Linked DNA regions of Homo sapiens: region 2 is linked to region 1. The links are contacts of gene promoters, found by promoter capture Hi-C in blood cells and fetal thymus (Javierre and others, 2016). All regions are on one chromosome and are shown on one strand. The core of a region is centred on a gene start or on the middle of the fragment in contact, and the rest is flanking DNA. Distances in the headings are between cores, read along the strand shown. Region 1 holds the start of ZNF160 (zinc finger protein 160). Region 2 overlaps ZNF701 (zinc finger protein 701).

What was found. Contacts are between HindIII fragments. The CHiCAGO score rates a contact against its expected background, and 5 or more counts as called.
Region 2: a contact is called between a fragment that was not itself captured here and the fragment with the promoter of ZNF160 in region 1, in 1 of 17 cell types (neutrophils). The highest score is 6.3, in neutrophils.

What each region holds. Positions count from the first base shown.
Region 1 is chr19:53,102,035-53,106,216 of GRCh38, forward strand. ZNF160 (zinc finger protein 160) reads right to left here and starts at 1,388. Exons shown (of 6, transcript NM_001322131.2): 1 at 1,231-1,388. RefSeq lists a silencer at 1,431-1,840. The HindIII fragment of the contact is 3,069 bases long and covers 1-2,630 here.
Region 2 is chr19:52,571,065-52,575,289 of GRCh38, forward strand. It overlaps ZNF701 (zinc finger protein 701), which reads left to right. Exons shown (of 4, transcript NM_018260.3): 2 at 3,013-3,098. The coding sequence starts at 3,084. Among named protein-coding and RNA genes, the nearest start is that of ZNF701, 2.9 kb to the left of the region's middle. RefSeq lists an enhancer at 1-260. The HindIII fragment of the contact is 7,533 bases long and covers 1-4,225 here.

The sequences.
Region 1 (4,182 bases), core at 138-2,637:
CTCCAGCCTTTTTCCCCTTTTATCTTCCCCCTAGGATTCTGACGATGTTGTGCCTCTTTTTTCTTCTGCTGTTTCTCCCTTCTTTGTTTTTTCCCCTTATATCTGTTCTACTCCATTCTTCCAATTTGTTTCACCTCTTGTGGCGTTTTCTTTCCAATCTTTTCATCGTCCCAATCTCCATCTATTTCTGCCTCTTTCTTACCCCATCTCCGCGCCTCCTCTGCTCTCCCTGTTAAATCCCCTCTTCCCTGTTACACCCGCTTATCCCCACTCTCTGGCACTCCCAGATCCCAGGCCTCCCTGTGTTGTGGTGCTCCCTCTGCTCGCCTTGTCACCAGCTGTCCCCTCCAGCTGTCCCAGCACCACGCAGCTCTGTCTGCCCTCGGCCAAATCCTTTCTCCTCTCCCCCACTCTCTGTCTGAGGAGGCTCCTTCTTTGCTGTCCCTCTCCTTATCTTGTTGTCCTGCATCTCGGGACATCGAGCTTTTCTCTACATTTCGCCAATTGCTTTTCTGCCCCTGCTACTTTCTTGACTGCTTCTTTCACTCTGTCGCTGCAAATCTCTCACCCATCCTCCACTTTGCCATCTGTTTATGGGTCTCCCTCATTTTTCTTTTCTCTTTCTTGGTTTTTCCATCTCCTCTCAGTGGCTCTTTGTCTCTCTTTCTCCTGATTCCCTTGGGCCACACATTCACTGGAGGGTTTGTAGTAAGATGTCTGCATGTTGGAGGAGTACATTTTCCAGGGGGTGGAGCTGGGCAGGCAAAAACACCGGGTGTCACAGGACGGGCCCCGGGCACCTCCCCAACGAGGGCTCAAGGGAAGCGGTGACTGCGAAGGGGAGGCCTGGGGAGCAGCAGGGCCCGGCACGAGGAGGAGGGAGGTGGGGGGCGACGGCGCCTTAGGACAGGGGTGGGATGTGCAGGATCCCAGGACCAGGCGGAGGCGCGGCCTCCCCGGGACTGGGTCGGCGGCGCTGCGCTCCAGGGGCCGACGAGAGCGAGGCTGGGAGGCGCCCAGGGCAGGCGGTGAGGACTTTAAGCGATGCGGGGCGGGAGGAGGAGTCAGTAAAGGATTTTAAGCAGGAAAATCCTGCTTAAACGTTTAAAAAACCGGGAAAGGCCGTGTTTACTTGGCCCAAGGCAGAAAGACCGGGGGCAGGGACCAGCCTCAGGGCGACTTTAACCCAAAAGGAAGCGTCTCCGGGCCCACACAGCAAGGCCTATTTACCTGAGGTGGAGGGTGCGGTGCGGAGATTTTAAGTCCGTAGCGACCCCCGGGCATCGGGTGTGCGAATGGGGGACGGCGAGGCGCAGGTTGAGTCTACACAGAGGAACACTCATACGCCATGGTGTGATGCTTGCTCCGCACGATCCACTTCCGGGTCTGTGGGCAACTGCGCGAAGGAAAGCGACCGAGCGGCCCGGGGCGGGGTCCGAGATGGGCGGAACCGGAAAAGGGCGGGGCGTTGAGAGAGCCGGGCTGAAGCAGGGGCCGCCAGGCAGGGACCCCAGGGAAGGAACGGGGAGGAGCCACCGGGGAGGGGTGGGGAGTGACCAAGTGGAGGGACCCGGGGGCGGGCCGGGGAGGAGCCGCCGGGGAAGGGCGGGGAGGAACCGCGGGAAGGGACCGCGGGGGAGGAAGGCGAAGGGACCGCGGGGGAGGGAGGCAGAGGGACCGCCAGGAAGGGACCCGGGGGAGAGGCGGGGCTGGACGGGACACGTTAGGGTCTGCGATTTCGTGTGATGCCCACAGCCCAGCGCCCAGAGCCATCTGTAGTGTCTTGTGGAACGGCGTAGATGTTTCAAACGGTTTCAAGTTAAAAGCACAGTTGTGTAGGTTATTTTGGAAACCAAACTGCTTTCCTCTTAGAATGGAGGCGGTTTATGTTGAAAGCATTTTTTGCTAGCGCGTTTACCCAGTAATGTTATTGACGCTGAAGCAGCCCAGGAGTCTGGGAACATGGGTTGACACGGAGCGGTGATGGCATGCTGGAAAAGTTTCTGCGATTAAAATTAAGTAATTTAAAAGCCCTGAAATTAGCAGTAACTTTTAAAAAATAGATATAAATTGCATTGTCCTTTTTTATACTTACTATTCTATTCCGTGCGAGATGACAACCTCAAACGCCTATACTTTTTTTTTTTTTTTTTGAGCCGGAGTCACGCTCTGTCGTCCAGGCTGGGGTGCAGTGGCATGATCTCTGCTCACTGCAACCTCGGCCTCCCGGGTTCAAGCAATGCTCCTGCCTCAGCCTCCCGAGTAGCTAGGATTACAGGCGCCCGCCACCACGTTCTTTAGCGGAGATGAAGTTTCACCATGTTGCCTAGGCTGGTCTCGAATTCCTGACCTCAAGTGATCCACCCGCCTCAGCCTCCCAAAGTGCTGGGATTACAGGCGTGAGCCACCATACCTGGCCCCAGGAACTACTTTCACCTACTGAATATATATTAAGTCCTTTGCCACAAAAAGATAATATACATAATTTATCTCAGAACAATTAAGATATTTACCACTGTAAATGACAAATTCAGACTTAGAGAAGGAAGATTTTATTCAAAAGGACTATTGCAATAGAGAGAATGTTCCAATCACAAGATCTGAAAATGTCCAAGAGACACAAACTAAAAAGCTTTTTTTTCTTTTTTTCATATATGGAGGAGTAAACAAGGCTAGAAAGCACAAGCACAAGTTATGAGGCTGTGGATGAGCACTTGGCATGACTACAGTTATTCAGGGAAAGTTTGTTATGTTATGTTATGTTATGTTAAAAATGTTACATATTTCTTGGAGAGAGTCTTGCTCTGTCACCCAGGCTGGAGTGCAGTGGCGTCATCTCTGCTCACTGCAACTTTTCATCTACCAGGCTCAGGCAATCCTCCCACCTCAATCTCCCCAGTAGCTGGGACTACAAGCACACGTCACCATGCCTAGTTAATTTTTGTACTTTTTGTAGAGACGGGGTTTCGCCATGTTGCTCAGGCTAGACTCGAACTCCTGAGCTCGAGGGATCCCCCACACCTTGGCCTCCCAAAGTGCTGGGATCACAGGCGTGAGCCACCGTGCCCGGTCTATTTATTTTTTGAGAGAGCATCTTGCTCTGTTGCCCAGGCTAGAGTGCAGTGTCAAGACCATAGCTCACTGCAGCCTTCAACTCTGGAATCAAGTGATCCTCCTACCTCAGTCTCCCAAGTGGCTGGGACTACGGGTTTGCACCGCCACACTCCACTAATTTTTTTACTTTTTGCAAAGGCGGATTCTCACTATGTTGCCCAGGCAAGTCTTGAACTTCTAGCCTCAACTGATCCTCCCGCCCTGATCTCCCAAAGTGTTGGGATTACAAATGTGAGCCTGGCTCATCATGGAATTCAAGACCAGTTTGGGCAACATAGCAAGACTCCCATCTCTACAGAAAATTTTTAAAAATTAGCTGGGCATGGTGGCACACACCTGTAGTCCCAGCTACTCAGGAAGATTGCTTGAGCCCAGGAGTTCGAGGCAGCAGTTAGCTATGATCCTGACACTGCACTCCAGTCTGGGCAACAGAGTGAGAACCTGTCTTTCAAAAAAAAAAAAAAAAGCCTACTCTTGGGAGGGGCTGTTGGCTGTTGTTAAGGAAAAGTTGTTCCAAATTACACTGACAAAGAATGGTTCAGAGGGTTGGGCATGGTGGCTCACGCCTGCAATCCTTGCACTTTGGGAAGCTGAGGCGAGTGGATCACATGAGGTCAGGAGTTCGAGACCAGCCTGGTCAACATGGCGAAAACCCATCTCTACTAAAAACAAAAATTAGCCAGGCGTGGTGGTGCACACCTGTAATCCCAGCTACTCAGGAGGCTGAGGCAGGAGAATTGCTTAAACCAGGGAGGCAGAGGCTGCAGTGAGCCGAGATTGTGCCACTGCACTTCAGCTTGGGTGACAGAGCGAGACTCTGTCTCAAATAAATAAATAAGGCTGGGCGCGGTGGTTCACACCTGTAATCCCAGCACTTTGGGAGGTTGAGGCGGGTGGATCACGAGGTCAAGAGATCGAGACCATCCTGACCAACATGGTGAAACCCCGTTTCTACTAAAAACACAAAAATTAGCTGGGTGTGGTGGCCTGTCCCTGTAGTCCCAGCTACTCAGGAGGCTGAGGCAGAATTGCTTGAAACCAGGAGGCAGAGGTTGCAGTGAGATGAGA
Region 2 (4,225 bases), core at 67-2,566, 530 kb before region 1:
GAGGATGGGTGAGGGATTTGCCAAGAGACAGCAAAAGTGAAAAAAAAAAGATAAGAAAGCAGGAGGAGAAAAGCAACTGGAGAAATGTAGAGAAAAGCTAGATGTACAGAGAGATGAAGGACAGACAGCAAGGTAGAGAGGGGCAGCAAAGAGGGAGGCTCATCAGAGTGAGAGAGAGAGAGAGAGAGAGGAGGAATTTGGAGCCAGGGCAGACAGAGCAGAGTGGTGCTGGTGGCAAGGAGAACAGAGGGAGAACCACAGCAGGGAGGACGCCTGGGGATCTGGGGTGCTAGAGAGTGGGGACGGGGGGTAAAACAGAGAAGAGAGAATTTAACAGGGAGAGCGGCAGAGATGCAGAGATGGGATAAGAGGCGGAAATATATGGAGATTGAGGACGATCGAAGAATTGGGGAGAAGGAGCAACAAGAGATTAAATAAGACGTGAGGATGGAGCCCAGGTAATTTTTGTATTTTTAGTAGAGACGGGGTTTCACCATGTTGGCCAGGCTGGTCTCGAACTCCTGACCTCAGGTGATCCACCCGCCTCGACCTCCCAAAGTGTTGGAATTACAGGCGTGAGCCACCGCACCTGGCCACCCAAGCATTCTTGATTGAAAAAGTTTGCTTATGTCTTAGTTCTACAGCTGACCCTCTTTCCCTGCTTTTTGTTTGTTTGTTTGCTTGTTTGTTTTGAGATGCACTTTCGCTCTTGTTGCCCAGGCTGGAGTGCAATGGTGTGATCTTGGGTCACCGCAACCCTTTTTGGTTTTTTTTTTGAGACGGAGTTTCGCTCTTGTTGCCCGTGCTGGAGTGCAATGGTGCGATCTCGGCTCACTGCAACCTCCACCTCCCGAGTTCAAGCGAGTCTCCTGCCTCAGCCTCCCTAGTAGCTGGGATTACAGGCATGTGCCACCACACCAGGCTAATTTTGTATTTTTAGTAGAGATGGGGTTTCTCCATATTGGTCAGGTTGGTCTTGAACTCCTGACCTCAGGTGATCTGCCCACCTCGGCTTCCCAAAGTGCTGGGATTATAGGCATGAGCCACCGAGCCCGGCCTACTCACCACCACCTTTACCTCCCGGTTTTAAGCGATTGTCCTGCCTCGGCCTTCCTGAGTAGCTGGAATTACAGGCAAGTGCCACAACATCTAGATAATTTTTGTATTTTTAGTAGAGATGGGGTTTCTCCATGTTGGTCAGGATGGTCTCGAACTCCCGACATCAGGTGATCCGCCTGCCTCGGCCTCCCAAAGTGCTGGGATTACAGGTGTGAGCCACCGCACTCAGCCTCCCTGTTTTGAAGGTAACTAGCTGTGTCTTTGTACATCTGCATTTTATAAATGTTACTGTAATTTTCTTGTGAGGAAGAATTAAATGTTGGGAATCAGTGGCATCAGAACTTGCAAAGGAAGTTTCTTTATCCCAGGTATGTGAAAGAGGCTTCTCTAATTTTCAAGGATAGTTTTGATAAGGCCAACCCTTTCCTTTATCCCTTCCAGGCCACCATGTAAGAATTCCGTTACATCTTTTCACTCATCTCAGACCTTCTCAGCGTGACTCGGTGAAAATGTCCCCGTTCTGAGGATGTCACAGCTAAATCTAAAGCAGATCATGTCAGTCCCTGGCAGGGAACCCTCCATGGGCTTCCTGTGTTCCCCAGGACAAAAGCCCAACTCCTCACTGTCACTCCACAGCCCTGTGTCCAGGGCCCCTGCCACTGTCCAGGCTCCTCCTGGGAACTTGCCCTCATCTCATGACTCCCTCTGCCCCAGTCACATTTGCTTTTCTCTTTTCCCAAACATCAAAACCCTTCCCGTCTCAGGTCATTTTCACTGCTCTTACCCTATTTCTCTAAATGCTCACAGCACTGTCCCTTTCTCCTTCAGGTCCTGGCTCAGAAATGTCTCCCATGCCCTCCCACCCCCAACTGAATTTCCCTCTGCCCATCAGTCTCTATCACATTACTCAGGTTTTATTATCTCTGTGTCAGTCACATCAGAAACACACTTTTTTTCTTTTTCCAAAGAGTCTCGCTCTGTCCTCCAGGCTGTGAGTGCAGTCTTGTGATCTTGGCTCACTGCAACCTTTGTCTCCTGAGTTCAAGCAATTCTTGTGCCTTAGTCTCCCAAGTAGCTGAGATTACAGGTGTGTGCCACCATACTCTGCTAATTTTTGTATTTGTATTTTATTTTATTTTTGAGTCTTACTCTGTTGCCCTGGCTGGAGTCCAGTGGTGCGATCTTGGCTCACTGCAACCTCCACCTTCCAGGTTCAAGCGATCCTCCAACCTCAGCCTCCCGAGTAGCTGGGCTTACCAATGCCCACCAAGCCCAGCTACTTTTTGTATTTTTAGTAGATATGGGGTTTCACCATGTTGGCCAGGCTGCTGTTGAACTCCTGAACTTGAGTAATCCTCCCACCTCAGCCTTCCAGAGTGCTAGTATTACAGGCATGAACCACCGCACCCAGCCCCAATTTTTGTGTTTTTAGTACAGACAGGTTTTCACCATGGTGGCCAGGCTGGTCTCAAACTCCTGAGCTCTACTGATCCTCCCCCTCAGCTTCCTAAGTAGCTGGGACCAGAGACACACAGACGTGCACCACCATACCTGGCTAAGTTTTTGTATTTTTGGTAGAGATGGGGTTTCACCATGTTGCCCAGGCTGGTCTCAAACTCCTGAGCTCAAGCGATGTACCCACCTTGGCTTCCCAGAGCGGTGGGATGACAGGCATGAGCCACCGCACCGAGCCTCTGCATGGGATTTGGTCAGGGCTGGGTCTGTGCCCTGAAAGGGAGCTCATTCCAGCCCAGCTCCCCACTGCTGCAGCGTGTGAGGGCTTCTCCAGGAGGGAAGCGAGAGTTTTCTTATAGAAATTTATTATCCCTGGTGCAGTGGGCAGCAGAGGTGACCATATTTTTTCAGAGTGAGGGCACCTTTGTATGTGTCATTGTGTTACAGGCAGGAGGTGTGTTGATTCTGAGCAGTAAACAACATATTTCTAACATTCAGGATTGACTTCTAAAGACTTGGTACGTGAGGAAAAAACACGGAAGAGGAAGAGGAAAGCAAAGGAGTCAGGGATGGCTCTTCTTCAGGTGAGATGATATTCTCGGGGGATTGTTCTGTCTCCTTCCTTTCAGAAATGCTGATCTTGGAGTTGGGAATCTTCTCTGAGTCTCAAGTGTCCTGCCTGACAGGTTTGCTCACACTCAACTCATGCCTTCCCTCAGTCCCTGTCATCTCACTTAGATTCCATCTCTTGTGACTGAGTGACATGAACTTGGGAAGAGGCTGCACTGGGCATGGTCCTGGGAAGGGCTCACACCCAGACATGTATGGAGATGGGGTGAGGGTCCCGCAGTGTCAGTGCTGTTGGGCAGCAGGGATTGTTCAGGGGCCACATCTGGATGCACTGTCAACTCTCTGTGGACCAGGATTAGAGCAGCTGCCAATGGAAGTGACCTATTAATGTGCACAAAGTACGTGGTAAATTCTAGAAAAGGAGACCAATAAGGGAAAATCTTTTCTCCCTAATTTTATACCACATTTTTAGGTAATTGAGTGAGTTACTGTGTTTCTGACTCAAAAAATTGTACTAATTAGAATGGAAAGTTCATAAACAGACATGAATGATACAGGGGTTTTATTCCATCCTTATTTAAAGAATATGAAATCAACCTAAATAATAGCAGGAGATTTATTAAACCATTCTTAGCAAATTAAGCTGATGGAGACAGTGGTGTTACTGTGGAGAGGCTTTTGAAACAGGTGTTTTTTGTAAAAATGGTTACAATTTTTCTCAAATATGGGAGCAGTACTTGCAGCTGCCAAATTATCCTTTTCCACCAAGATGAGATTCCTCTTCAGTTAAACAAAATTTGCATATATATATATATTTGTGTTTGTTTGTTTGTTTTTTCGAGACGGAGTCTCGCTCTGTTGCCCAGGCTGTAGTGCAGTGGCACGATCTCCGCTCACTGGAAGCTCCGCCTCCCAGGTTTACACCATTCTCCTGCCTCAGCCTCCTGAGTAGCTGGGACTACAGGCACCCCCCACCACGCCCGGATAATTTTTGTATTTTTTAGTAGAGACGGGGTTTCACCGTGTTAGCCAGGATGGTCTCGATCTCCTGACCTTGTGATCCACCCGCCTCAGCCCCCCAAAGTGCTGGGATTACAGGCATGAGCCACTGTGCCTGGCCTACTTTTTGTATTTTTAAAAC